5 separate regions of the Homo sapiens genome follow, and regions 2, 3, 4 and 5 are each linked to region 1. The links are contacts of gene promoters, found by promoter capture Hi-C in human tissues and cell types (Jung and others, 2019). All regions are on one chromosome and are shown on one strand. Each heading gives the region's core, a stretch centred on a gene start or on the middle of the fragment in contact. The rest is flanking DNA. Distances are from core to core; before and after follow the strand shown.

Region 1 (5,593 bases), core at 270-2,769:
CCCCCAAGAGGGTGCCTCTCAGCAGAGTGGAGCCCGATCCACCGAGGAGAGCAGGAGGCGGCCGTGGAAACCGTCAATAAAAATTAACAGACCGACCAGAACACAGCCTCAGTTACTGATCAACCCGAGCCCCGCCCGACCCGACTCTCCCTCCTCGGGACACCCCGGGGGGAAGGTGGATAGAAAGCCGGACTGTCCGAGGCCCTCCCTTCAGCCCCGGCCAGGTCCTGACCCAACAGTGAGCTCCCCACGGCTTCTCCCGGCCACTGCAACTCCCGGCGAGGCCCTAAGTGACTCGGAGCGTCCGTCGGAAGGGCAGCCTCCGGGCCTCCTGCCTCACTCCGGGAGGCGAGTGCGCGGCCCCCGAGCCCGCGGTGCTGGGTCCGAGAGCGGGGAGCCCTCGTCTCGCCGTCTGCAGGACCCACCTGCCCGCACGCATGCTAAGGGGTCCAGACCCACTCTAGGGCTGCGCCTCTTCTGACACCACAGACTGCACGGACCACGTTTAACAGACTTTTAAAAGTGACTGAACCCAAGAAAAACTTCTCAGGAAAACGGAAAGAATGCGAAACATCTCCAGCCTCTCCCGCTTCCTATTCCCAGGGAGGGCCTCGCGCAGGAAGCGCTCGGCGGGACACGGCCTTTCTGGAGGGGGCTCCCACCTCTCCCAAGGGAAGCCCGCCCAGCAAAGCCGCCCGGAAAGGCTGCCCCGGCCCGAGAGCCGGGAAGGCCCCTCCCCATGACGGCGCCCGCGGGGGTCCCTGGAGAGGCCCCTCCGGCCCCGGGGCGGAGGACAGACCCTCGGGGCGGCCGCTTCTCTCCCGAGATCACCGAAACCCCTTGGCCGCGGCCCGGGGCGCACGGGGGGCAGGGGTAGGGCGGGGAGCGCAGAGACTCGGGCCCGCGGCGAGGCCCCGGCGCCAGCTTTCCCTCCCGGCGGCCGCCCCAGCCCCGCCTGCGCTTCCGGGGCTGCGCCGGGGGCAGAGTCCGGGCGGCGGGAAAGGCGCGCGCCCCCGATGGCGGCCGCGCACGCGCGCTGGGGCCAACGGGGACGCGCGACGGGCTACGCAGGCGCACGAGGGGAGCGGACGGGAGGCGGGAAGGGCCATCCGGGCGCGCGAGGGCCGGACGGGAAGCGGGAAGGGCCGCGCGCCGCCGAGGCGGGGCAAAGGCGAAGTGCGGGGACGCGCGCGGAGGGGGAGGGGCGCGGGAGGCCGCGTGCGCTAGGGACGGGGCGCGCGGGGGCCGGAAGCGGGCCGGACGGGGGATGGGGACGCGGCCAGACCCCCGGGAAGCCCCTGACCCGCCCCGCACCCGCGCCCGCCACGCGGAGAGGAAGGGGAGAGCCCGCCGCCCCCTCCCGCCCGAGAGGGGGCGAGATCGGCCCCGGGGAGGCCGGCGCGGCGGCGGGGGCAGGGCTGCGGCGCGGGGAGGGCGGTGGGGCGCGGGGCGACGTGCGACTCACCCGTCCATGGCACACAGAGCAGACCCGCGGGGGACGGAGTGGAGGCGCCGGAATAGCAGGAACCGACCCAACGGCTCCGAGTTATAGACTCACAAAATGGCGGAGACGCCCGCACACGTCCCCCGCGCGCGCTGCCCATTGGCTCCCGCTGCAGCCAGGGGGCGGGGAGAGCCCCGCGGGCCCCCGCCAGCACCTCCCACTGGCCAGAAGGCCGCCCGGGGGCGGGACCCAGAGAAATCGCAGGCGCCTATTGGGGGAGGCGGTTATTCCTCAAGGCCGAAGGCGGAAACGGCTTGTGTAGTCGGGGGAGGGGGAGAAAATGGGATCACGTGACGGCGTCTGAGCCAGTCAGCTGGCGCGTGGCTTTGCGGGAGACGCCATCTTGAGAGTGGGTACGTGGCGAGTCAGGCGGCGGGAAGCGTGCTTTGCCCAGGCTGCCGCCATCTTGCAAGTGGGCAGGACCCGCCCGCCTGGGCCGTGAGGGCAAAGGGAGTCGCATCGCCATCTTGGAGTCGGGCAGGAAACCCTCAGGGCTCCATGTTGGTTGTGGGCACATGGCCAAAAAGTCCGATTCAAACTGAGCGCTCACATCTGGGTGATCGCGCGGGGAGGGAAAGGCCGCGTCGCGTCCCGGACACGCCAGGGCTGTTTCCACAGTGGCCACAGATACTGCGGGCGCGCCATGATCCGGGGTCACCCCCGACCGTTCTTTGTTCGCCCCGGAACAGCGAATCCCGACTGCGGAGATAGGGAAACTGAGGTCCGGGCCCCGCACAGTCCGCGGCCGGCTGCCTACAGCTGGGAAAACTGAGGCCTGGACCTTGTACAGTCCGCGGCCGCCCGCCTACAGCTGGGGAAACTGAGGCCTGGACCTTATACAGTAGGCGGCCGCCCGCCTACAGCTGGGGAAACTGAGGCCTGGACCTTGTACAGTCCGCGGCCTCTCACCTACAGCTGGGGAAACTGAGGCCTGGACCTTGTACAGTCCGCGGCCGCCCGCCTACAGGTGGGGAAACTGAGGCCTGGACCTTGCAGTCCTTGGCCGCCCGCCTACAGCTGGGGAAACTGAGGCCTGGACCTTGTACAGTCCGCGGCCTCTCACCTACAGCTGGGGAAACTGAGGCCTGGACCTTGTACAGTGGGCGGCCGCCCGCTTACAGCTGGGGAAACTGAGGCCTGGACTTTGCACAGTCCGCGGCCAACCGCCTAAAGCTGGGGAAGCTGAGGTCCGGGCCACACACAGTCCACGGCCATCCGCCTACAGCTGGGGAAACTGAGGCCAAAGCCACACACAGTCCACGGCCATCTGCCTACAGCGGGGGAAACTGAGGCCCAGGCCACACACAGTCCACGGCCATCCGCCTACAGCTGGAGAAACTGAGGCCCGGGCTCCATACAATCCAAGGCCGCCCGCCTACAGGTGGGGAAACTGAGGCCCAAGCCACCCGCCTACAGCTGGGGAAACTGAGGCCCGAGCCCCCTACAGTCCCTGGCCCACTGACCTACAGCTGGGGAAACTGTGGCCTGGAGCTCGTACAGTTCGAGGCTGCCAGCCTACGGCTGGGGAAACTGAGGGCCAGGCCCAGCAGGGTCACCAGGAGGGTCCCTCCCGGGCCACCATCCCAGCAGCAGAAAACACCCTAAACTAATGTTCCCAGGAGCGCTGATCACATGAAGAGTCTGACAGAGCTGTGAGGGTGCCTGACGGGGAGGCCAGGTCAGCGGGTTGGGAGCCATCCCAGAGTGAGGGGATGACCCCGGCCCTCCACACTGGGACCCTCACGGGAGGCTGCGGTTGGAAACCGGAGCAGTTCCCGGCCCGGAGTAGACACTGCTCCCTAAATAGAATTAGCGGGATTTAGTCCATGCTGAAAAGGGGGTTTTTCATTAACACCAACCTACGGAGGGAGAAGACATGACAATTCTCGTTTCCCCAAATCCAGGCGAGCCTAGCGCCCTGCTTCTCTGGCGTGTTTTATTCCAGCAGTGCTGCGTTTCAGGCCGGGGCCTGGCGTGGGCCCAGGAGCCTTGGAGCCCCGCCGGGCGTCTGGTGCCAGAGGATTCCAGCCCGGATTAGGGGTGGCCGCCGAGCTCCATGGAGGCATCGCACGGCAAGGTCCTTTGGCCCGAACCACCCGGTCAACGGAGACTCACCAAGAGCCATCTGCAGCCAGGGTCACTCATCAGGAATGTCCGGTGGATCTGGGAGAAGCCCAGTGTGTTACTGTGGATTTGCTCCCCTGGAGACCCCCATCCTCACACCACCAGAACCAGCCGCTTCTGTCTGTTCGCGGAGTGCCTGGGATGGGCCCCGCCCTGAAAGCAGACAGGCAGGGGCGGCCGGGGGTCTGAGTGGCAGCTGGCAGCAGTAGAGACCACCAGGTTCCAAGCACCAGTCTAACCCTTCGGAATCGTGTTAAAACCCACTTCTGATCGTGGCCCCGCCAGGCCTCCTGTCTTGCTCAAAGTATAAACCCAAGGCCATCCCTTACCCCGCAAGCCCCACATGACCAGCCACCTGTCCAGTACCTTTTTTTATTTTTATTTTTTTAAGACAGTGTCTGGCCGGGTGCAATGGCTCACACCTGTAATCCCAGCACTCTGGCAGGCCGAGGTGAGTGGATCACCTGAGGTCAGAGTTCGAGACCAGCCTGGCCAACATGGAGAAACCTCCTCTCCACCAAAAATACAAAAATTAGCCAGGCGTGGTGGTGCATGCCCTATAATCCCAGCTCCTTGGGAGGCTGAGGCAAGAGAATCACTTGAACCCGGGAGGCGGAGGTTGCAGTGAGCCGAGATTGCGCCATTGCACTCCAGCCTGGGCAACAGGAGTGAAACTCTGTCTCTAAAAAACAAAAACGAAAATAAACACCTGTCATCCCAGCACTTTGGAAGGCCGAGGCAGGCGGATCACAAGGTGAAGAGCCTGAGACTATCCTGGCCAACATGGTGAAAGCCCGTTTCCACTAAAAATACAAAAATTTGCCGGGCGTGGTGGTTTGCTCCTGTAATCCCAGCTACTCGGGAGACTGAGGCGGGAGAATCACTTGAACGCGGGAGGCGGAGGTTGCAGTGAGCCTAGATTACGCCACTGTACTCCAGCCTGGGCAACAGAGTGACACGCTATCTCAAAAAAAAAAGTAAAAATAAAAAATAAAATGTATGTCGCGGAATTTAGGGTCTACCTGCAGACTCCAGGATGATCTCATCTCAAGACACTTAATGGTACCTTCAAAGACTGGTGTTCCAAATGAAGCCTTGTTCACGGGTTCCAGGGTTTAGGATGTGGTTGTCTTTCTTTGGGGCCACCTCTCAGCCCCTCAGCCCCACCCACCACCTGAAGCTTAGAGGGCGATAGCAGGTACAAGCAGGCCGTTTGTTTTTGCAATGGCGGCCTGGTCCCAGGAACCCCCCCCACCGCCTCCACCTCACCCAGGTCACCTGAAACCAGTGTCCTTCCTGGGCTGGCCTGACAGTAACCATGGCTGAGGGCCCAGCAATTTACAGGTCAGCTGTCATATGCAGAACGCCAGCGCGGGAAGACGCCCAGGGGCTCCCGTGGGCACCTGATTTATTTAGCGAGCAGGGCCCAGCCTCTGTCTTTTCTCCTCTCCTGTCTCCCATCCCAGCCCGCAGGCCAGCTGCCTCCTTCATGAATGATTCAGGGTGAGCGAGGAACAGGCTCACCTTGCCTTTGTGCGAGAATCACGTTGGTTTGCTGGTTACCATTTTGAAAATGATACTCTGAGCCTGGCAGGAGAAACGGGGGGGGGAGTGAGGACATCTGAGGCCCTCAGAGCCACCGAATCTCATGCAGAGGGCCTGCTGGGGCCTCAGACACCTTTCAGTTCTGATGGGGGAGGGAAGGGCCGTGCCTCAGTTTACTTCTTCGTCAACATGAGTGGCAGGGCCAGGCCGTCCCTCCTCCCCATGAGCAGTTCCATAGATTTATTTTTCCTTTTCCTTTTTTTTTGTTTTTTTTTTGGGGGGGATGGAACCTCACTCTATTGCCCAGGCTGGAGTACAGTGGCGCAATCTTGGCTCACTGCAACCTCTGCCTCCCGGGTTCAAGTGATTCTTCTGCGTCAGCCTCCTGAGTAGTTGGGATTACAGGTGCCTGCCACCACG
Region 2 (4,837 bases), core at 1-2,500, 240 kb before region 1:
GACTGGGCAGGGGACGGGACAGAGAGGTCAGGACAACGGTCGGGCTGAAGACGTGCGGTGCGGCTGCGGGCAACTCCCTGCCCCTTTCTGAACCTCATTCCTTTATCCCACAGCGCAGGGTTCCTGGAAGCTCTGATTAGAGCGAGGCAAACAGTAGTCACTCGATAAAGAGGCTCCGCTACCCCAGGGGTGGAGTAAACCAATGGGAGCGCAACCCGCAGCCGTCCTCGCATCTGATTGGCTGCCAGGACTGTCGCTCTGAGCAGGGCTGACAGCTGGGGACTTAAAGATCATCCTCTAATCCTCCAGGGACCGAGTTTGGGCTTAACGCTTTCGTCACCAGGCTCCACCCCAAGCCTCACCTGGAAGCCTCTTCCAGGTCCTGACCCCCAGCCTCCTGCCTGGCCCAGCCCAGGCAAGGATTCCTTTCCCCTCACTGTTCTCCGAAGATAACAGCAACGAATATTGGCAGTGCTGGACATTTCACACGCCCAGGGGAAGTGCTGGACTATCACCCCACTCTACAGAAGTGGAAACCGAGGCCCAAGAAAGCAAACCCAGGCACCCAGAGAGACAGGCAGTTGCCCAGCTGGAGGCACGACCCCAGCTCTGCCCACACCTTATGTAGCATTAATCGCTCAGAGGGACCGCGGGAGCCAGAGAAAGAGTCAGGCGAAGGGGCTGGGATAGAGACTCCTGGAGTCAGCGATTCCTGATCTATTTTCCTTGGGCCGGTCCACCTCTGACACAGATGGAGAATCTGACGCTGACAGAGGGGCAGGAAGTTGCTAAAGGTGACCAGGCCGGAACTGGGACCTCAGACCCAGACCCTTACGCCAGGGTTCTTTCCTTTACATCAAGCGGGACTTAGGATCTGGGGGAGTGGGCTCAGTTTCTCCATTTGTAAGACGGGGCAAGGGGGAGTGCAGGAGTTCTAACGGGCAGGGGGCTGCAGGTGTGTGATCGGCAAAGGCCCTCTTAAGGGTCCCAGATGTCCGATGCCCCCCTTGAGAATCAGTGATCAATTCAGCCGTCGTCAACATTCACCGGAAGGAGGTCAGAGGCTGGACCCCCTAATTCCCAGGGAACTTGCATCCCTCCCGGCCCCAACCCCGCATTCTCGAGTCTCGGGCCTTCTTCCCTCTCCGAGTCCTTCTCACCTTCCAGGGGCTCCGCAGCTCTTGCCGCCTTCCCTCCGCCCAGCAGCAGGCAGGGAGCGCGCCGCCCCTTAAGCCAAGTGCGCTGAGCTTGCCCGCGCAGGTAGCAGCGCCGGGGCACGCCCCTGCCTCTGCACGCTGCTATTGGGCGACCTGCCCGTCACTCACTGGCCTGCTCCGTCGGAGCTGCGCGGGCCAAGGGAGGAGACGGGATCACAGAAGGGCCTCGCCTAGCCGGGTTTCTTAAAGGGACCGCGCGGCTCTTGCTGCATCACCGTAGGGTGGCGGAGTGCCCGGCAGGTCCCAGGCAGGCCGCCCTCCGGGAACGAGGCTGCGCTGTCTTTGGGGAGCCAGGCTGCCTCCCCACGTTGTATAACCGGCTGCAATACCGCAGCTCCGAATTGCAGGAGTTCCCTCTGTCCCCGCTGTCCCCGGGGCTGGCCAGGCTCCCTCTAGTTTAGTCCAGACTCTGGGACTACACTCGTCCGTCTGTAAAGTAGGGGTTCCACTAGATCATTCGTTCATTCATTCATTCCACGAACGCTCCTCGGCTTCTGCAGAGGATGGCAGGAGGGGGAGGGGGCCAACATTCTAGAGTCTCCGATTATAGTGGCTACCCTGATTTTGAGGAAAACCCGTTTCCCACTCTGGAAGAAGAGTTGAAATAAACTCTTCAGGCTGGAGGTGAAGCTGAAATGGGAGCGTGTGGGTCCACAGCTTTGAAGGCGCTGGGGAGAGTGAGAGGCGTGGGGACGGCTCCCGCGGCAGGAGGTGGCATTGCCGTTGGGGCTTTGAGGATAAATAGGAGTTCGCCAACGGGGAGACATCCAGGCTGAGGCCACGAGACTTGCGCTGTAAGGTAGAGTGCAGCCAAAGCGCATGGGGGGCATTTGAGGGAACTGCCTCTTCTCCAAATGGCCAGGAAGCCCAGCCTCTCCCTCTACCCCAAGTCCCGGCCCTTCAAATCATTCATTCCACCCAGACTCACCTGTGGCTTCAGCTTTTGCTCCTCCTCCCAATGGTGAGGTGGACATTTTCCCCTTGATCCCCCCATCCCCCAAGACCTCCTCTCTCCCCACAAAAGCATCAAAGCAAAGCACGCCCTCATCGACGCCAACTCTCTTGGCCACCTTCTCTTCGTACAAACAGAGGTTTTATTGCGTTTGGTCCACAGTCGTATTTCACATTATCTCACGGAGCAGGTCCCCTGGGTGGGGGGTCCCTGTGCAGTACTTGGCGGGGCATGTGGCCGGGGAAGATGGAGCAGTATAAGCTGGTCGGGCCCAGAAGGGAGGAGGGCTGGGGGCTCCTTAAAACCTACTGAGGGGCTGGGCACGGTGGCTCACACCTGTAATCTCAGCGCTTGGGGAGGCGGAGGCGGGCGGATCACACCTGAGGCCAGGAGTTCGAGACCAGCCTGGCCAACATGGGGAAACCCCATCTCTACTAAAAATACAAAAATTAGCCGGGCGTGGTGGAGCACCTGCAGTCCTAGCTACTCAGGAGGCTGAGGCTGGAGAATCGCTTGAGCCCGGAAGGTGGAGGTGCAGTGAGCCAAGATGGCGCCACTGCACTCCAGCCTGGGCAACAACCACAACTGAAAAAAAAATCTACTGAGGCCAGAGTGGGTTGGGGCGGGGAGCATGGAGAGGGGGTCAGGCTTAGCCCCAACAACTCAGAATTTCACTTCCTTGTACGGCCCTCACTTTCTCCACCTGGCCCCGGGGCAGGTCTGAGGGTCTGAAGTCTGTTGGTCTGAAGGTCCTAGGCAAATCCAGTCACTTGGGAGCCGGAGATATTTAACATCACGGCCCGGTCCCCTTTCCCAGGGGACTCATTTCCTAGCACTCTCTCCACTGTCCTTGCCCCACCCCTGGGGGAAAAAATGTATTTTTCTTTTGTGAATACTTCCTGAAACTTGCGGGCATAGAAACCACAAACTGCTCAGCTGACAAAAGGGGGAAGAGGCGAGGCAAGCAGAAACCGTCGGGGACCGGTTCCTTCCAAGCCCAGGTCTCTTCTTCCCAGCACAGCCTGAATGTGCCAGCAGGGACCCTCGCCCTACACGTATTGGGATATGGCCTTGACCCCTTCCCCCACAGCCCAGTGGCTCAGCCTTGCGAAGGATCAAGGCAAAGGGGAAAAAAGCTCTGCTGCCTGATCCCACGCTGACACTCACAGACCCTTGGTTGACTGGCAGCACTGAACGGGTTAAGAAAAAAAAAAAAAAGATGAAAACACAGAAAAACCCAAAAACCCAGATGGGCAGACGATGTGGGGAGAGAGCGTGCTGGGAGCCTCAGTAGCCGGCCTCCTCCTGGTAGTAAGGGGGATATTCAGGGACCTCCCCCGGGTCCGGGCAGTCGCCGGTGCCCGAGGGAGCCCCATCGGCCACTGTGCCTTGCGGGCAGTACTTGGGGTCATATATCTGCCGGCCCAGGCCGAAGACCTGGCCGCTCTGGTTGGCGCCCTGCGTGTAGCCCATCTGCAGGGACATGGAGGAGTTGTCACACTTGTCGGTTCCCAGCTTGGTATCATAGATGTGCCGCCGGGTCCCGGGAGCCGTCATGCCCACCTGGAGAGGAAGGAGGGGTGGAGCAGGTCATGGTGGAGAGAAGAGGGGACCTTCACTGGGTGCACTGGCTCACGCCTGTAATCCCAGCACTTTGGGAGGCCAAGGTGGGAGGATCACCTGAGGTCAGGAGTTCCAGTCCAGCCTGGCCAACACGGTGAAACCCTGTCTCTCCCAAAAATACAAAATTAGCTGGGCGTGGTGGCACATGCCTGTAATCCCAGCTACTCGGGAGGCTGAGGTGGGAGGATCACCTGAGGTCAGAAGTTCAAGACCAGCCTGGCCAACACGGTGAAACCCCATATCTACTAAAAATACAAAAATTAGCCGGGCGTGGTGGCGGGCGCCTGTAGTCTCAGCTACTCGGGAGGCTGAGGTGGGAGGATCACCTGAGGTCAGGAGTTCAAGACTAGCCTGACCAACACAGTGAAACCCCGTCTCTACTAAAAATACAAAAATTAGCTGGGTGTGGCCGGGTGCGGTGGCTCACACCTGTAACCCTAGCAGTTTGGGAGGTCAAGGCGGGTGGATTGCCTGAGCTCAGGAGTTCGAGACCAGCCTGGGCAACATGGTGAAACCCCATGTCTACTAAAAATACAAAAATTGGCCGGGTGTGGCAGCATGCACCTGTAGTCCCAGCTACTCGGGAGGCTGAGGCAGGAAGGAGAATCTCTTGAACCCGGGAGGCAGAGGTTGCAGTGAGCCGAGATCGTGCCACTGCACTCCAGCCTGGACAACAGAGTGAGATCCTATCTCAAAATAAATACATAAATAAAATAAATAAAGATTAAAAAAAAAGAATTGGGTGGACCTTTGGGCAGTCCTTAAGGGAAAATGACACAGGGTGAGGTAGTAACTTCCCTAGAGACCCACAGCCAGGTGGAAATGACAGAGGCTGAAATCCAAGGCGGAGACAGAGAGCGGGGAGGGAAGCCGGAGGTGGTCTAGGGAAGGGGCTGAGACTGAGAGTGGGGAGAGAAGCTGGAGGTGGCCCCAGGGAGGGGCCGAGACCACAGGGTGTAGAGGGGCAGGGAGAGGAGTCGGGGGCACCCGGGCGAGCCCCACCTGGCTGGCACACTTGTTCGTGCCCATCTGGAGGCTGATGGTC
Region 3 (5,593 bases), core at 3,094-5,593, 210 kb after region 1:
ACACCGGGGGCAGGGAGGGTGGATGACAGCAAGCTTCGGAGAACGCGACCTCCTCAGACCGCCCCTCCCTGGGCCTTCGTGTCCCCTCCAGCCCCAGCCCCTCTCCTGCGGAGACACCCTCCAGCCCCAGCCCTTCTCGTGCAGAGACCTCCAGCCCCTGCCCCTCTCCTGCGGAGACACCCTCCTTTGCACGACTCAGGCTTTCCCAAGTGGACCTGTGTGGCCTTTAGAATCAGCGGCGGCTGGGGTGAAGGGAGTAGGAATGAACTATACTTATTTTTGACCTAATTTTGCTCTGGGAGGCACAGAAGACCCTGCCGAAGCCCTGGGGGTTGCATAAGGCCAAACCCCTTCCTTCTTGGTTTTCACGCCTGTTCCAATTCAGGCACCAACCGTGATCACCTACAAGGAAGGGAACTTGAGCCTCTGGAACCCAAAACCTTGAACTTGGGTCCTTGAACTTGCTCTTCCACCAGCACCCCAGGGAAGCGCCCAGCATGCCTCTGGGGACTTTCAGACGTCAGGCCGGGGTGTAGAGCCACCCACAGCCCCAGAGACTTCAGCAATAGACCAACTGCACTTCTTCTTCCTTTTCTTTTTTTTTGAGACCAAGTCCCACTCTGTCAGCCAGGCTGGAGTGCAGCAGCGCGATCTCGGCTCACTGCAACCTCTGCCTCCTGGATTCAAGTGATTCTCCTGCCTCAGCCTCCCGAGTAGCTGGGATTACAGGCGCTCGTCACGATGCCCAGCTAATTTTTGCATTTTTAGTAGAGACGGGATCATCTCACCATGTTGGCCAGGCTGCTCTCGAACTCCTGACCTCAGGTGATCCGCCCGCCTCAGCCTCCCAAAGTGCTGGGATCTCAGGCGTGAGCCGCTGCACCCTGGCACCAACTGCACTTCCAAAGGGGCCAGCCGCCCAGGCCTGAGAGCCGAAATCTGGACCCACGTCAGCCCAGGACCCATGCTCTGCCCCTCAGAAAATTCAGCAAATATGTGGCACCTGCTGTATACTGGGACTGGGACGTGGGGCGTGAAAGAGGCCACTTCCGAGCACGGGAGCAGGGTGGACTTGGGCGTGGCGGAGACAGCTGGGCAGCGAGGAAGAACCGGGGTGAGGGCGTGCCTGGGGGGCACAGGCTGGGCAAGGAGCACAGCACTCTCTCAGCAGGAAGGGGAGGTGAAGAGAGTGTGAGACGTGAGGCTGAGACACTGGCAAGGCTGTGAAAGACCCCATCCTTCTCCCTCATACCATCCCCACCGTGCAATTGGGGAAACTGAGGCAGAGGGGCCCAGCGAGGACCCAAGACACCCAGCCAGGCACAGGAGGCCTTGGGCCCGAAGCCAGTTGGGGCCAGGCTCCTGAGTCAGCTGCAAACGTAGAGGCCCCTTCGCTTGCTGTGGGCTGCCCCAAAACACCCTCCACAGCAGGGTCCGGCCGCCTGCTTAGGGAGCTTTTGAGATATTCTTGGGGGTCTTTTTCCACACTGATTCCACACTGGCACAGGTCCCAAGCCTGGGGAGGGTCCTAGGGGCCCCGTGCACCCAGCTTGGCAACATCGAAATCCTTTTTTAAAATCTGACTGCCGTGACTCCCCTAGTCCCGAAGACAGGCCCCGCTAACCCCATTCCCTGCCTGCTCAGTTCCACTTCAACACTCATCTGCCGGGGTGGGGCTGCACTTGGTCCACACAGGGGCCTCTGAGCCCTCTATGCCTCAGAGCACAGAGCGGGGCCACAGCCTGCCCAGGCCTCCAGGCGACCACGCCCAAGGAGGGTGGAAGGATGAGAGGGCTTCACTCCTACCACCGGCCTTCCCCCCAAGCCCCGGGATCAGCCATCTGCCCACCTGCCCCCCAGGCCACCGACCGCCCCTCTGCAGCCAGGGGGTCGCTGGAGCTGCCCAGGGGAGGGAGTGGCTGGTGTGGGCCTCCACCTGCCAGCCCCCACGCTGCGGTGCACCCATCTCTGTCGAAGGTCATGCTGGAGGGGACGGAGGGGAGTGGGCACGTTCTACAGCTCCCTCTCCACCGCGTCCCTCTCCGGTCAGGGGGTGCCACTGCCCGACTGGAAGTGGGGCCAGGCCGACCAGCAGCCCTGGAAGTCCAGTCCTTCCCGCTCACTGTCCACATTTCGCAGGCCAGAGCCCAGATGCTGACCAAGCTCTCCCGGTGGGGCACAGAGGCAGGGTGGGAGGGGCCGGACACAGCCCCTCTGGGGATTTCGGGGCTCCTCCCACCCCTGGCCTGTCTCGAAATCCAGGCTTCTGGTCAAAGCTGTATTCACCTCTCAGGAAGGCCTGGGGTGGGAGGAGGATTCCAGGGCCTTCCTCCAGGCTCTGTCCAGGACGCATGTGCCCCAGGCCTCAGTTTCTCCAGTCAAGCACTAGGGGTGCAGAGAATCCAGGGGAAGAGAGAACCCCACAGCCTCCCTGCCCAGTTCCGGGGGTCCAGGGTCCGTGGGGGCTGTCCTGGGGCGCCCAGGCCTGGAGGAGGAGAGACAGGCGGGAAAACCGCAGGCTTCCCAGGTCCGGCGCGCTGTCCGTGGTGCTGAAACCGCGCCCGTCCCGCGCGCCCGGCCTCGCTAGCCCGGCGGGCCCCACCTACACCCTCCACCTGCACCCTCCACACCCCACCTCACACCCCACTCGTGGATACACAAACACACACGCATCCCTCCATGGTCGCGTGTGTGAGACCTGCCTGCGGCTCACACTACTGCCCACCGGTGCACACCGGCCCCGGGCGTACACGCGCACGCCCGCCACCTGGTCCCAACACACACAAACCACACGTCCCACCAAAATAAACCCACCGGAGGCGCACACGCCCGCGACCACCACGCAAACACACTCCTGGAGACACACCTCTCCGGCCACAGGCTCGCGCCCCGGGAACCCCGCCGCGGTCACGGGCCCCTGTTCACACACAGCCCACGGGGACACGCGCCGGTCTCGCTCTCCGGCCACAGCACGCACAGCCCAGGAACCACGACCGCAAACATCAGTGGCGGTGGCCCCGCGCCGGCCCTGCTCCGAGCCTTCCACGCATTAGCCGGCTGGATCCACAGCGGCGTCTACACACCCACCGCCGCATGCGCGCACCGCCCGCGGCTCGGGTGGAGCGGCTCCCGGGGACACAGCCTGGGGACCCGCACGCTTTCCAGGCCCGCGGCCCCGGGCGCGCCTCCTCGCAGGCGGGGCGCGGGTGGACGCCGTGGGAGCCGCTTAACCCCCTCTCCCCCGGCCTCCCTGGGGCGCGTCCTTCCCGGGCGCCCTTCGTTCCTCCTCCCTCCCGCTCCGCCGCCTCTCTGGGGCCCACGTTCCCCTCTATTCGTCCTCTCTGCCCCTCTGCGCTCAGACCCTGGCCCTGCGGCCCACCCCACCCGCCGCGCCGCAGGGCGGAGGATGTCGGGGTGCGTGGGAGGGGGGCGCTCCGCGGTCACCCGGGGAGCCCCCCCAGAGGCGGAGCCTCGCGCGCCGGGGTCACTCCGGGGCGGGTCCCGGACACGCCCGAGGTCACCGAGGAGCCCCGAGGTCACCGGCCCGGCGCGCCGCCCCGCCCTCCCCAGGCGCTCCAAGGACGGCTCCCCGCGCGCCCGGCTCCCCGGGCCCCCTCGCGCCGACCGGCCCTCCCGGAGGCGGTACCTGAAGTCGCTGTACGGGTGGATGATCCAGGCCCCCGCCGACTTGACGCGCTCCTGCTCGCGCTCCACGGCCTTCTGGCTGCCGAACATCCGCAGCGAGAACTTGTTGACGCCCGGCTGCAGGAGCGCGCCGAACTGGCGCTGCATGAAGCTGGCCTGGCTGCCGCGCGGCTCCCCCGCCGGGCCCGCCTCCTCGCTGCCCGCCTCCTCCGCCGGCCCCGGCCCCGGCGCGGGCCCCGAGGCCGCCCCGCGGCACGAGAACGACACCTTGGGCCCCCGCGCCGGGCCCTCGGGCCCCGCGGGGCTGCACTGCGGCTCGCCGCGCCCGCACTCGCCGTTCGGGCTGCCCTTGGCCGTGCTCGCCGCGCCCGGGGTGCCGGGGCGGCCGCACGAGCTGTCGCGGCTGCGGAGCCGGCCCCGCGGGCCGCCCTCATCCGCCGCCTCCGGGGGCAACGCCTCGGCCCGGGGCGGGTGCTGGGGGGGCGCGGGCCCGGGGCCCGGGGGGGGCGCGGGCGGCGGCGGCGGCGGCGGCTGCTGTTGGGGGGGCGCGGGCGGCGGCGGCGGCGGCGGCCCCGGCGCGGGGGTCGCGCCCGGGCTCTCCCCGGGCCGCCCGCCGCCCCCGCGCGCGTCCATGGCGAGGCGGCGCCGGGCAGTGCGGAGCGGAGCCGCCGCCGCCGCCGCCGGCCGGAGCCCGAGGGAGGGGGGAGGCGGGGGCGGGGCGGGGCGGAGCCGCGGGGGGCGGAGCCTCGCGGCGGGGGAGGGGCGGGGGAGGGGCGGGGGCGGGAGACCCGCCTCGGCTGCGCCCCCTCCCCGCGCGCCGCCTCCGCTCGGCGCCGGGAAACTCGGGCCGCGGGGTCGGGGGCGCCCCAAGGTCACGCGGCCCGAGGCCTCGGAGCCCCGCGCGGGCCTCTCCCCAGGAGGGGAAACTGAGGCCCGCGACGTGTAAGGACGCGCCCAAGGTCACCGGGCCCCGCTGCCCGGCCGGAGCCGCCTCTCCTGCGCCGCGGCTTCCACCTCTGTCCGGAGGGCACCGGCGCGGGGAGGGTGGACGCGGGCCTGGGAGACGGGAGAGGCCGCCACGGCCAGCGCCTCCTTGCTTTCTGTGAGGTTTGAAGACTTCCACGACGAAAGGGTGTTTCTAAAGGTCACAGGAGCCCTTGCTGGGTCGCCTGTGGGCCCTGGACAGAGACCCTTGAGTGCGTGGGGAGGGGCAGGCCGGCTTGGGCGCCGTTCTGGGAGACTCAGGCACTCCTCTCCCTGGTCTGCATTTGAGGAAACTGAGGCCAAGCCCAGCCAGACAAGGAAAACTGGAAAAGCCACCCGAGGGTGTGGGGTTCCCACCCACCCCTCAAACAGTGCCCTGGGGAGCCGTGCGGCGGGGGTCTCCTCTAGGTCTGGTGGGCTTTAGATTGGGGTCACAGGGAGACCCAAAGCCCACTAGCGCCTTCGCACGGGTACCAGAGCCCCCTGCCCCGGGGTTGCCTCCTTTCCCCGACCCCTCGGACTCCGGGTGCAGCTGTGCCCCCAGTGCCTCCAGTCCCCAGCTCTGAGACAGGTGCTTCCCAAGGCTCTGCTTCTGGGCCGAAGCCGGCTGGGCGTGGGTGCTGCTTGGTGCCAGGTGACATGAGGCCTCTGTCCCTAGCCACCCAGCCCACCAGACAGCCGGGAGGGGGCAGGTGAGGAAGCTGGCAAGTGAGAGAGAGGAGACAGACAGTCACACTCGAAGAAGTGGAGGCTGAACATCCCCACCTGGAGGCAGGAGGCCCTCCTGGGACCCTCCTGGCACCTGGCCTGACGTCCTCTCAGCCACGATGTCCCGTGTGCCGGGTGCCCCCCACCCATCTGCACCTCGAGGCCACCGGGGCAGAGATGGCCCTCTTCCTACACCCAGGAGGCACTCAGTGGTACTTGAGGGAGGGCCAGCATGTGCCCGGCTGACAGTGGATGG
Region 4 (5,593 bases), core at 1,578-4,077, 190 kb before region 1:
GGGTTTTCACCATGTTACCCAGGCTAGTCTTGAACTCCTGGCCTCAAGTGATCTGCCCGTCTCAGCCTCCCAAAGTGCTGGGATTCCAGGCATGAGCCGCCATGCCCATCCCCTGGTGGCTTTTTTATCTCTCCGAGAATGCTCATGCCCACCCAGCCCTCTCAGTTCTCTGAGCAGCCCACTGAGGGAAGCAAGGACAAGGTCAGGAAGGGCAGAAACATGGTTACCTTTGGGTCTTCTGGCCCCAGATCTTGTACTGTCTGCCCTGCTCTATGTGGGGTTGAGGGCAGGTCTCCCCCGAAATATAATGGACCATTTGTGACAACACAGCCGGTGATCTAACGCCACAGCTACGGTATGGGCCAAACTCCAAGAGGCCTGACTTTGTGAATGAAGTCTCCCTGGCACATCTCTGTGCCCACTCACTCACACATCATCCAGGGCTGCTTCCCCTCACCAGGGCAGAGCTGAGAAGCTGGCCTAAATGCAAAGCCTGAACAGTTCACTCTGTCTCGCAGTGAGAGCATGGCAGGATCCGGGCTGTGAGTGTGTCTAGGAGTTGCTGTCACCTGGTTGGTCCAGCGGTAAGAAAAAGGAGGCACTGGCCGGGCGCGGTGGCTCACGCCTGTAATCCCACTACTCTGGGGGGCCGAGGCGGGTGGATCACCTGAGGTCAGGAGTTGGAGACCAGCCTGACCAACATTGTGAAGCCCTTCTCTACTAAATACAAACAAATTAGCCAGGTGTGGTGGTGGGCGCCTGGAATCCCAGCTACTCAGGAGACTGAGACAGGAGGATTGCTTGAACCTGGGAGGCAGAGGTTGCATTGACTACCGGCATGAGCCACTGCGCCCGGCCGCCCTTTATAACTTTCAAGTCACAAGTGCCAGGCGCTGCCGCCTGCGTGGAAGAGATGCCCGCTAGCCCTGGAAGATGCTGCGGTGTGTGAGTGCCGGGGACTGGGCTGCACCGGGCTCTATCCAAGCACTCAAGGCAGGATTAGGGCTGGTCTGGGATTCGCAAGTCTCGAGGGGACCTGGAGAAAGGAGGCAGCAGGGTGAAGCTTAGGCTATAACCCCTGAGCAGTCACCCATCCCAGGGCCCCAGGCCGCATGGTTGTTCCCTGGTGCCCTGCAGGCAAAGCTCAGATGGGCTGAGATGTCCTGTGGGAAACGCTCACGCTTTGCTCCTCTTACCTCCCACAGGTGGATGCTTTCTGCAACTCCTGCCAGGACGTAGAGACCATTGGGTGATGCAGTCAGACAGGTGACAGGCCCGGGGCACATGATCTTCTGCTGGAGCTGGTCCTAAGGATGCACAGTCAGCCTCGTGAGCCCCATGCAGGACACGGGAGCTACTACAGCAGTGGAGGGCGAGGGGAGGGGACGCCTGGGCAATGGCTAAGTCAGAGAACCAGGAAGAGGAGTCGGGAGCAGGGTGGTTTGAGCAAATGCATGGTCCAGCAAGGAAGTGTTCGCCCCTGCAAGAGGCTTCGAGGCTGGAGGTGGTAGATGTGAGGTTGGTGCTTCCTCTGAGGGTCAGAGGGGCCCTGGGTGGGAGGAGTACAGGAACAGAACAAAGAGGATCCAGAAGGACACTGGGGCCCAAGAGCCCAGTAGGCTTGTGCCCCAATCCTTCTATCCATAATGTCCAACCTAAGACCCCAAGCCTCAGCTTCCTCCTCTCTAAAATGGGAAAACTCAGCCGGGCGTGGTGGCTCACGGCTGTAATCCCAGCACTTTGGGAGGCTGAGGTGGGCAGATCACTTGAGGTCAGGAGTTCGAGACCAGCCTGGCCAACATGGTGAAACCCTGCCTCTACAAAAAATACAAATGTGGGCCGGGTGTGGTGGTTGGTGCGGGCCTGTAGTTGCAGCTACTCAGGAGGCTGAGGCCCGAGAATCGCTTGAACCCTAGAGGCAGAGGCTGCAGTGAGCCGAGATCGCACCACTGCACTCCAGCCTCAGCGACAGAGTGAGACCCTGTCTCAAAACTAAAATAAAATGGGAGAAATTTATGAGTTGTGTGTAGACTCCATCAGGCAATGCTGGAGCACAGAGCCAGTCCCAAGAGATCTCAGCGGGCACACGGGGGAAGCGAGTAGCTTCAGGGACTGGCTGCATTTGGGCTTGGGAGTAGAGGGGAAACTGTGGGCGACGGTGAGTATCTGTTGCTTTATTGGAGGAATAAACATGAGTTTCCTGCGCCACCCCTTCATGGGAGACTCCCCCAGACCTTGGTCCTTCTCCCTTTTCCTCCAGAACCACAACATCCACAGAGCTCATAGGCCCCTTTTAATCAAATTTCGCGCTCCAAGAACTCGTGCATGCGCAATTGCCCCAAGGGACCCCCCGGAGCGTCTCCCATTTTCCCCCACTGCCCCCATAGCAGCTCAGGCCTGAGCCCCGCGCGTGCGCAGAGCGGCCTAACAGGTCGCACGTATCTCCCCAAAGCCCCCAGACCCGCGCATGCGCAGAGCGCCCGAACGGAGACCACCTCCCCTCCCCACGCCAATTCCGACTAAGGGTGCACGCGGCCCCCACCAACCCATCCCCCGACTTCAGCCTCGGGCGCCCCATGACCCCAGCAGCGAGACCGCACCGCCGCACCTTCCGCTGGAGCTCCCAGGCGCTGATGTAATTCTTGCCCAGCTGCGCCGCCAGCAGATACTCGCCATTGAGCAGCGCCAGGCCGCGGGGTCCCGCCTGGCCGCCGCGGTAGGTGAGCAGGTTGGCGCCCGAGTGAAGTTCCCACACGATGCAGCTCCACATCGGGGCCGCCGAGTCCGTACACACGGCCACCTCCATGGGCGCCGCCATCTTGCCTTCCCCACCGCCCCGGACGTGCGTCATCATGAGCGAGACGCGGACGACTGCCCCACGCGGGCCAGAGCGGCGGCCCCGCGGCCCCAGCGGGTGGCCGACCCGCGCATGCGCCCGTGCCTCGGAGAGAGGGGCTTTCTTGTGAAGTGGGATTTCCCGCTTACCTGAGACTCGAGGGTCGCGCGGCCTGCTTAGAGATCTGGGGAGGCGACTTCTTCCAAGGCCCAGGGTCTCCGGCGATCAGTTAGTAGCTCTAGAGCCGGGGTACCTGACTTGGCCTTTTCCTCCTGGGCATTTTTGGCCAAGTGACTCAAGCTCTTGGATTCATTTATTTTTAAATGTTCAAATAATAAAGTTCCGACGTCACAGGCCTAAATGACACATTGCGCCTAAAAGAGAGAGCGCACACCCAGCAACATGGCTAGTTGGCGATGAATACATTGGAATTCACTGCTTCCTTATTTATTTAGTTTTGTAGAGCCAGGGTCTCACTGTCCTGCCCAGGCTGGCCTCGAACTCCTGAGCTCAAGTGATCCTCCCAGCTCGGCCTGCCAAAGTGCTGGGATTACAGGCGTGAGCCACCGCGCCCGGCCCAGTGTTTCCTTATTGGTCGACATCTGCCTCCCCCTTGACCCCTCTTTAGGGGCCTCAACATCTAAATTATTAGTCGGATAGCTTGGTGTAGGTCAAACAAGTCGCCAGTTCTGTCCGAGCCAAGCAGGGTCTAACTTCATGTCACGGCTGCCCGTCACGGACCATGTCTGAAAACGGCATTCAAAAAAAAAAAAAGGCCGGGCGCTTTGGCTCAGGCCTGTAATCCCAGCACTTTGGGAGGCCGAGGTGGGTGGATTACCTGAGATCAGGAGTTCGAGACTACCCTGGCCAACATGGCGAAACCCCGTCTTTACAAAAAGTACAAAAAGCCGGGCGTGGTGGGAGGCTGAGGCAGGAGAATCGCTTGAACCCGGGAGGCGGAGGTCTCAGTGAGCCGAGATCCCAGGCACTCCAGCCTGGGCGAATGAGACTCTGTCTCAAAGAAAAACATATATCTATTATTTATTTATACTAAATATATATCTAGTAGAGATGGGGGGTCTCACTGTGTTGCTCAGGCTGGTCTCCAACACCTGGGCTTAGGCCTTGGCCTCTTAAACCGCTGGGATTACAGGCTTCAGCCACAACGTCCGGCCTAAAAACAGTATGATTTAAAATGTGCAATTAGTTGCCAACCCCTTAAAAAGGGATAAAAAGGGAGCATTCATTTAAAAGTCGGGATTTCCGCCCGGGGGTTGCAGCTGACCTGGGTCGTGTGCCCTCGAGCAGCAAGAGGCAGGGGCTGGAGGCTGCATGCGGGGTGCGGTCCCCGGAGGCGGTGCGACTCCTGGTCCGCGGCTCCCGGCGGAGGGCACGGCCGGGGCAGGAGGCTGGTGCCAGAGCGTGCGGCGCCGCAGCCCCGCTGGCCGCCAGGTGGCAGGCGCGAGCCACCGACCCCGAGCCCAGGCCAGAGGGAGGGCGGCCCCGGGGACCCGCCTGGTCGGCAGGAGGGGCCGTTTGAGCGGGGAGCCAGCGACCCCCAGAGAACCGTGTGCGGGGCAGGCCCGTGCGAAGGCCCTGGGGCAGGACCACGGAGCGGGGCCGGGCCGTGCAGGGCCGTGTGAACGAGGCCTGGATTTCATTTTATCCTGGGAGGGAGGGAGGGAGTCCAATCCAAGGACCTGCTGTGCCTCCAGAGTTTCCTCCAACCTCATTTTTATTTTCTTTCTTTATTTTGCGACAGTCTTGCTCTGTGGCCCAGGTTGGAGTGCAATGGTGCGATCTCGGCTCACTGCTACCTCTGCCTCCCGGGTTCAAGCGATTCTCCTGTCTCAGCCTCCCGAGTAGCTGGGATTACAGGTGTGAGCCGCCACGCCCAGCTAAGTTTTGTATTTTTAGTAGAGACGGAGTTTCACCACGTTGGCCAGGCTGGTCTCGAACTCCTGACCTCAGGTGATCTGCCCGTCTCGGCCTCTCAAAGTGCTGGGATTACAGGCGTCAGCTACTGAGGCCGGCCTCCAACATTATTTAAAAAACATTATTTAAAAAAATCGGCGGGGCGTGGTGGCTCCGGCCTGTAATCCCAGCACTTTGGGAGACCGAGGTGGGTGGATCACGAGATCAAGATCATCCTGGATAACAAGGTGAAACCCGTCTCTACTAAAAATACAAAAATTAGCTGGGCACAGTGGTGCATGCCTGTAATCCCAGCTACTCGGGAGGCTGAGGCAGGAGAATCGTGCAATCATGGCTCACTGTAGTCTCCAATTCCTGGGCTCAAGCCATCCTCCCACCTCAGCTTCCCGAGTAGCTGGAACCATAGGAACCACACTCAACTAATTTTGTGCTTTTTTTTTTTCTTTTTTTGCAGCGACAGGGTCTTGCTTTATTGCCCAGCTGGTCTTAAACTCCCGGGCTCAAATGATGCTCCCACCTTGGCCTCCCGAAGGGTTGGGATTACAGACATGAGCCACTGTGCCTGGCCTTGTTTTAATTTTTACTTTATTTATTTTTGTTTTTTGTAGACAAGCAGGAGAGGTGGATCTCACTCTGTTGCCCAGGCTGGAGTGCAGTGGCGTGATCTCAGCTCACTTCGACCTCCGCCTCCTGGCTTCAAGTGGTTTTCCTGCCTCAGCCTCCTGAATAGCTGGCATTGCAGGTGTTCACCACCACGCCCGGCTAATTTTTGTAGTTTTAGTAGAGACGGGGTTTCACCATGTTGGCCAGGCTGGTCTCGAA
Region 5 (5,593 bases), core at 900-3,399, 170 kb after region 1:
ATATATATATGTTATTTTATATATATATATATATGTGTGTGTGTGTATATTTTAAGACAGAGTCTCCAAGTCTGTCGACAGCAAAGTTTCTGTCTCCCAGGCTGGAGTGCAGTGGTGAGATCCCGGCTTACCGCAATTTCCGCTTTCTGCGTTCAAGTGATTCTCCTGCCCCAGGCTCCCAGTAGCTGAGATTACAGGCATGTGCCACCACGCCCAGCTAATTTTTTTTTTTTTTTGTATTTTTAGTGGAGGGAGCACAGGCATGAGCCACCACGCCCAGCTAATTTTTTTTTTTTTTTTTTGTATTTTTAGTGGAGATGGGGTTTCACTATGTTGGCCAGGCTGGTCTTAAACTCCTGACCTTGTGATCCTCCTGTCTTGGCCTCCCAAAGTGCTGGGGTTACAGGCATGAGCCACTGTGCCTGGCCAAAAATTAAATGAAAAAAAAAAAAATTGCAGGGGATATTTAAGCTATACATGGCTGGGCGTGGTGGCTCACACCTGTAATCCCAGCACTTTGGGAGGCCGAGGCGGGTGGATCCCCTGAGGTCAGGAGTTGGAGACCAGCCTGGCCAACAGGGCGAAACCCCATCTCTACTAAAAATACAAAATAATTAGCTGGGTGTGGTGGCATGTGCCTGTAGTCCCAGCTACTCAGGAGGCTGAGGCAGGAGAATCGGTTGAACCCGGGAGGCGGAGGTTGACAGTGAGCTGAGATTGCGCCACTGCACTCCAGCCTGGGCGACAGAGCGAGACTCTATCTAAAAAAATAATTAAATAAAATTTCCAAAGAAGAAGTAAACTATGAAGTTCGAAAACACTTGGAGATAATGAAAATGAAAACACCACCTGTCAGAAGTCCTGGGATGCAGCTGACACAGTGCTCGCAGGGTAATTTATAGTCACAAAATGCCTATATTCGGAAAGGTGATGGCCGGGCGCGGTGGTGCACACCTGTCATCCCAGCACTTTGGGAGGCTGAGGCTGGCGGATCACGATGTCAGGAGTTCGAGACCAGCCTGGCCAGCATGGTGAAACCCCGTATCTGCTAAGAATACAAAAAATTAGCTGGTGTGGTGGCGTGTGCCTGTAATCCCAGCTACTCAGGAGGCTGAGGCAGGAGAAGTGCTGGAACCTGGGAGGCAGAGAACCCGGCCCAGCTGAGATTGTGCCACTGCACTCCAGCCTGGGCAACAGAGCAAGACTCCATCTTGGGGGGAAAAAAAGTGAAACATCTCAGACCAAATACGTCACCTTTCACCTTAGGAAACTAGAAGAAGAAGCTGTCACTAAACCTAAAGCAAGTAGATGAGAGGAAGTTACAAAGATTAAAACAAATCGATGAAATGGAAGGCAGAAACAGCAGAGAACAGTCAAGCCAAGTCAGTCCTTTGAAAAGATCCACACAATTGACAAATCTGGAGGTTTAACAAGCTGCCTCCCAGAGGAACGTGAACCTCCCACAGTCCCACCTGGCGGGCCATGCGGCTGCCTCTGCAGGTGGAGCTTGTGTGTCAGAACCTCAGGGGGATGCATCGGTCTGCCCAGCTGGCCACTCCTGCCTGGTGACCCTGTCCCCTGCTGAGCTGGTGGCTACAGAGAAGGGGTCTCCAGGGAGCAGGGAGGATGTGGAGGTTGGGCCATCCCCCCAGACCCTCACCCTGGCTTGGTCTCCCAGGGTGCCTTCAAGGAGCTGGTATATGTGTTATTCATGGTGAAGGATGCCGGCTTGACTCCGGACCTGCTGTCCTATGCGGCTGCCCTCCAGTGCATGGGGAGGCAGGACCAGGACGCCGGGACCATCGAAAGGTAGGTGGTGTCGGGAGGGCCCCCACCCCCCACCATGTCCCTCCCAGGGTTTTAAGATCTGGGACGGTGCCTGGGCTGGGGGCTGGGGACCCCCAGAGGGCCTGACAGCCACACCGAGACCTGCAGGCTAGCAGGAGGTGGTCACGAGGTTCCCCTGGGGTCTGTGGAAGCCCAGCGTGGGGCTGGCCCGTCCCTCGAGCAGGCCGCCTGCACCACAGGTGTCTGGAACAGATGAGCCAGGAGGGGCTGAAGCTGCAGGCACTCTTCACCGCCGTTCTGCTGTCTGAGGAGGATCGGGCCACTGTTCTGAAGGCCGTGCACAAGGTGAAGCCCACCTTCAGCCTCCCGCCGCAGCTGCCGCCCCCGGTCAACACCTCCAAGCTGCTCAGGGACGTGTATGCCAAGGTGAGCCCACGTGGGCCCCGGCAGACTTCAGTCCTTATAGCTGCCCTTTGGGGGTTCCTGGAGCCTCAGCTCAGACCAATGGGCCTCCCCGGTGCCCAGGGCTCACCTGGGCTGGGCCCTGAATTCCTCCCTTCCTCCTCTGAGAAGATGGGAGGACCCAGAGCTGGGAGGGTCTTGGCCCTGAGGGTGTGGGCTCAGGGGGACGAGGTGGTCGGGGGCCGCAGAGAGAGGGTGGGGTGACAGGAGAGCAGTGCGTTTGAGTGGGGCTGCCAGGTGCACGCAGTGGGCTCGTCTGTTACTGAGGTGTAATTCACCTGCCATAAAACCCTCTTAAAGGTGTAATTCAGCGATTTTAGTGTAGTCACGGTTGTCTAATTCTAGAATGTTCCATCACCCTAAAAGGAAGCCTCGTCCCCATCCCCGTCACTCCCCATCCCCTCCCCATCTGTGGATGAGTCTGCTCTGGACATTCCATAGAAATGGGACCACACACTGCGAGACCTTTTGTGTTTGGCATCTCCCACTGAGCGTGACGTCCTCATGGTGCCTCCGGGAGGCGACCTGGGTCAGGGCTGAGTCATGCTCCGGTGCGTGGATGGCCGCGCCGTGCCCGTCTGTTCGTCCGTTTATGGGACGTTGGGCTGTTTCTACTTATCGACTGCGAGTCATGCAGCTGTGAACGTTTGTGTACAAGCTTTTATGTGGACGTGCGTCTTTGATTCTCAAAGCGCTAGGCTTTAGTTGTTATTTTTAATTCATCTATTTCTGGATGGGTCACATTCATACAGTTCTGAGTTTGAGGAGAAAACAGCCAACATCTGGGGGTGCAGTGAACGGTCTCCCCAGGCTCTGCCAGCTCCCAGCATCACCGCCCCTGCCACCCCCTGCACGGTGCCCAGTGTCCCTTCTAGAGGGGTCGAGGCCAGGAGGGTCAAGGCCTTTGGTTTGCACTGCTGGCACTGACTTTACCCGCAGCCCGCCTTTCCCCGCGTCAGCGATAGCCACCAGCAACTTGCAGGAGACGCAGAAACGCGTGCACCCATGCTGTCTCGGGGTCCTGGGAGGGCAGGTCGCCCTCTGGCAAGCCCCCAACCTCACTACCCCCATCCCTGCAGGATGGGCGTGTGTCCTACCCGAAGCTGCACCTGCCCTTGAAGACCCTGCAGTGCCTCTTTGAGAAGCAGCTCCACATGGAGCTGGCCAGCAGGGTGTGCGTGGTGTCCGTGGAGAAGCCCACGTTGCCAAGCAAGGAGGTCAAGCACGCGGTAGGGGCTGAGCCGGGGTCCCGTGTCCGCCGCAGGGGCTGAGCCGGGGTCGCGTGTCCACCGCACGGGCTGAGCCGGGGTCCCGTGTCCGCCGCAGGGGCTGAGCCGGGGTCGCGTGTCCGCCGCAGGGGCTGAGCTCCGTGTATGCGGTTGAATTGCTCATGCCCTGGTCTGGTCATGCAGGGCCTAGGAACTCAGCCTGGCTGCCGCTCAGGGAAAACTTGTGGGGTCCCGAGGTTGGGTCTTGGCCTGTGCTTCTGCGCACACTGCAGCTGGGCTTTTGCTCTTGGCTGCGTCAGGCACGCTGAAGCCGGCAGAGGGCAGGCCGGGGTGAGGAGCTACCCGGAACACACAGCAGGGACCTTGAGGGCCATGAGGTCTCTGCAGGGAGCTGCGGTGACCCCCGTCCTGTGAGCCTGGGTCCCACCAGCTGCCACGGGGCTCACCGGGCCCGTTCATCCCCCGCAGCGGAAGACCCTGAAGACCCTGCGGGACCAATGGGAGAAAGCACTGTGCCGGGCGCTGCGGGAGACCAAGAACCGCCTAGAGCGCGAGGTGTACGAGGGCCGGTTCTCACTTTACCCCTTCCTGTGCCTGCTGGACGAGCGCGAGGTGGTGCGGATGCTCCTGCAGGTGCGTCTTCCTCCGCGCGGCCGGGTCCCCGGGCGGGGCGGGCAGGCACTCACGGCTGCCTTCCGCAGGTCCTGCAGGCGCTGCCCGCCCAAGGTGAGTCCTTCACCACCCTGGCCCGGGAGCTGAGTGCGCGCACTTTCAGCCGGCACGTGGTGCAGAGGCAGCGGGTCAGTGGCCAGGTGCAGGCGCTGCAGAACCACTACAGGAAGTACCTCTGCTTGCTGGCCTCCGACGCCGAGGTGAGGCTCGCACCCCCTCTCCTCCTGGCTGGGGCCAGTGGTGGGTGGGCGCTCTCCCTCCCTGGAGCAGCCGGGTTTGCACCCAAGCTTCAGTCTGTTCATCTGTATGCTTGGGCTGACAGATGCCCCACCGGGCGTCAGGCACGGGCGGTGGGGCATCTAGCTCAGGGGCCCCGGTGCCCAGCGCCCTGACCGCCCTGTCCTACAGGTGCCCGAGCCCTGCCTGCCGCGGCAGTACTGGGAGGAGCTGGGGGCGCCCGAGGCCCTGCGGGAGCAGCCCTGGCCCCTGCCAGTGCAGATGGAGCTGGGCAAGCTGCTGGCGGAGATGCTGGTGCAGGCTACGCAGATGCCATGCAGCCTGGACAAGCCGCATCGTTCCTCTCGGCTTGTCCCCGTGCTCTACCACGTGTATTCCTTCCGCAACGTCCAGCAGGTGCCAGGCAGTGCCCTCCTGAGCTGGGGGGCATCCCGCTGGGAGGACCAGGGACCCCATGGGGTTGGCGCCTTTGGGCGGAGCCTTGATCTCAGCGCAGCCGTCAGTACCTCCCAGGACTCGGGACACACCATGGGTGTCCATGCAGGTGTCCGGCCGTTTCTGGAGGTGGCTTCTGTTCGTGGGAGGCCACACTGGTTTCTTGTTGGCCGGGGAGCCGGCCCCTCTCACCCAAGTTTAAGGGGTGGGAACAGGAAAGCCCCAGCACCGGGGCCCTGACCCGTCTGCCTGTCGCACCCCAGATCGGCATCCTGAAGCCGCACCCGGCCTACGTGCAGCTGCTGGAGAAGGCCGCGGAGCCCACGCTGACCTTCGAGGCGGTGGATGTACCCATGCTTTGCCCCCCGCTGCCCTGGACATCGCCGCACTCTGGTGCTTTCCTGCTCAGCCCCACCAAGCTGATGCGCACGGTGGAAGGCGCCACGCAGCACCAGGAGCTGCTGGAAACCTGCCCGCCCACCGCGCTGCATGGCGCACTGGACGCCCTCACCCAACTGGGCAACTGCGCCTGGCGCGTCAACGGGCGCGTGCTGGACCTGGTGCTGCAGCTCTTCCAGGCCAAGGGCTGCCCCCAGCTAGGCGTGCCGGCCCCGCCCTCCGAGGCGCCCCAGCCGCCCGAGGCCCACCTGCCGCACAGCGCCGCGCCCGCCCGCAAGGCCGAGCTGCGCCGTGAGCTGGCGCACTGCCAGAAGGTGGCCCGGGAGATGCACAGCCTGCGGGCGGAGGCGCTGTACCGCCTCTCGCTGGCG

What was found. Contacts are between HindIII fragments. The study calls those that stand out against the background at their distance.
Region 2: a contact is called between the fragment with the promoter of ABCA7 here and the fragment with the promoter of PTBP1 in region 1, in 1 of the 25 tissues and cell types used here (dorsolateral prefrontal cortex).
Region 3: a contact is called between the fragment with the promoter of HCN2 here and the fragment with the promoter of PTBP1 in region 1, in 2 of the 25 tissues and cell types used here (dorsolateral prefrontal cortex and lymphoblastoid cells).
Region 4: the fragment with the promoter of WDR18 here is called in contact with the fragment with the promoter of PTBP1 in region 1 in 3 of the 25 tissues and cell types used here (dorsolateral prefrontal cortex, lymphoblastoid cells and spleen).
Region 5: a contact is called between a fragment that was not itself captured here and the fragment with the promoter of PTBP1 in region 1, in 1 of the 25 tissues and cell types used here (dorsolateral prefrontal cortex).

What each region holds. Positions count from the first base shown.
Region 1 is chr19:793,378-798,970 of GRCh38, reverse strand. PTBP1 (polypyrimidine tract binding protein 1) reads right to left here and starts at 1,519. Exons shown (of 15, transcript NM_002819.5): 1 at 1,466-1,519. The coding sequence starts at 1,473. RefSeq lists enhancers at 1-680, 681-1,566, 1,773-2,112, 1,765-2,400 and silencers at 823-1,132, 1,203-1,382, 1,393-1,742, 1,506-1,860. The HindIII fragment of the contact is 37,831 bases long and covers 1-5,593 here.
Region 2 is chr19:1,036,520-1,041,356 of GRCh38, reverse strand. ABCA7 (ATP binding cassette subfamily A member 7) reads right to left here and starts at 1,250. Exons shown (of 47, transcript NM_019112.4): 1 at 1,161-1,250; 2 at 1-132. It overlaps CNN2 (calponin 2), which reads right to left. Exons shown (of 7, transcript NM_004368.4): 6 at 4,795-4,837; 7 at 2,292-3,732. The coding sequence ends at 3,457. RefSeq lists enhancers at 1-203, 2,096-2,595, 2,596-3,097, 2,685-3,244 and a silencer at 115-254. The HindIII fragment of the contact is 21,554 bases long and covers 1-4,837 here.
Region 3 is chr19:588,631-594,223 of GRCh38, reverse strand. HCN2 (hyperpolarization activated cyclic nucleotide gated potassium and sodium channel 2) reads right to left here and starts at 4,343. Exons shown (of 8, transcript NM_001194.4): 1 at 3,647-4,343. The coding sequence starts at 4,278. It also overlaps the pseudogene LOC100420586. RefSeq lists an enhancer at 5,574-5,593. The HindIII fragment of the contact is 14,322 bases long and covers 1-5,593 here.
Region 4 is chr19:981,579-987,171 of GRCh38, reverse strand. WDR18 (WD repeat domain 18) reads right to left here and starts at 2,827. Exons shown (of 10, transcript NM_024100.4): 1 at 2,609-2,827; 2 at 1,197-1,307. The coding sequence starts at 2,818. RefSeq lists enhancers at 2,508-2,687, 2,718-2,867, 2,292-3,233 and silencers at 2,918-3,007, 4,172-4,561. The HindIII fragment of the contact is 34,067 bases long and covers 1-5,593 here.
Region 5 is chr19:621,340-626,932 of GRCh38, reverse strand. It overlaps POLRMT (RNA polymerase mitochondrial), which reads left to right. Exons shown (of 21, transcript NM_005035.4): 4 at 1,679-1,809; 5 at 2,028-2,214; 6 at 3,330-3,479; 7 at 3,948-4,112; 8 at 4,181-4,351; 9 at 4,560-4,784; 10 at 5,087-5,593. Among named protein-coding and RNA genes, the nearest start is that of POLRMT, 9.4 kb to the left of the region's middle. The HindIII fragment of the contact is 3,049 bases long and covers 625-3,673 here.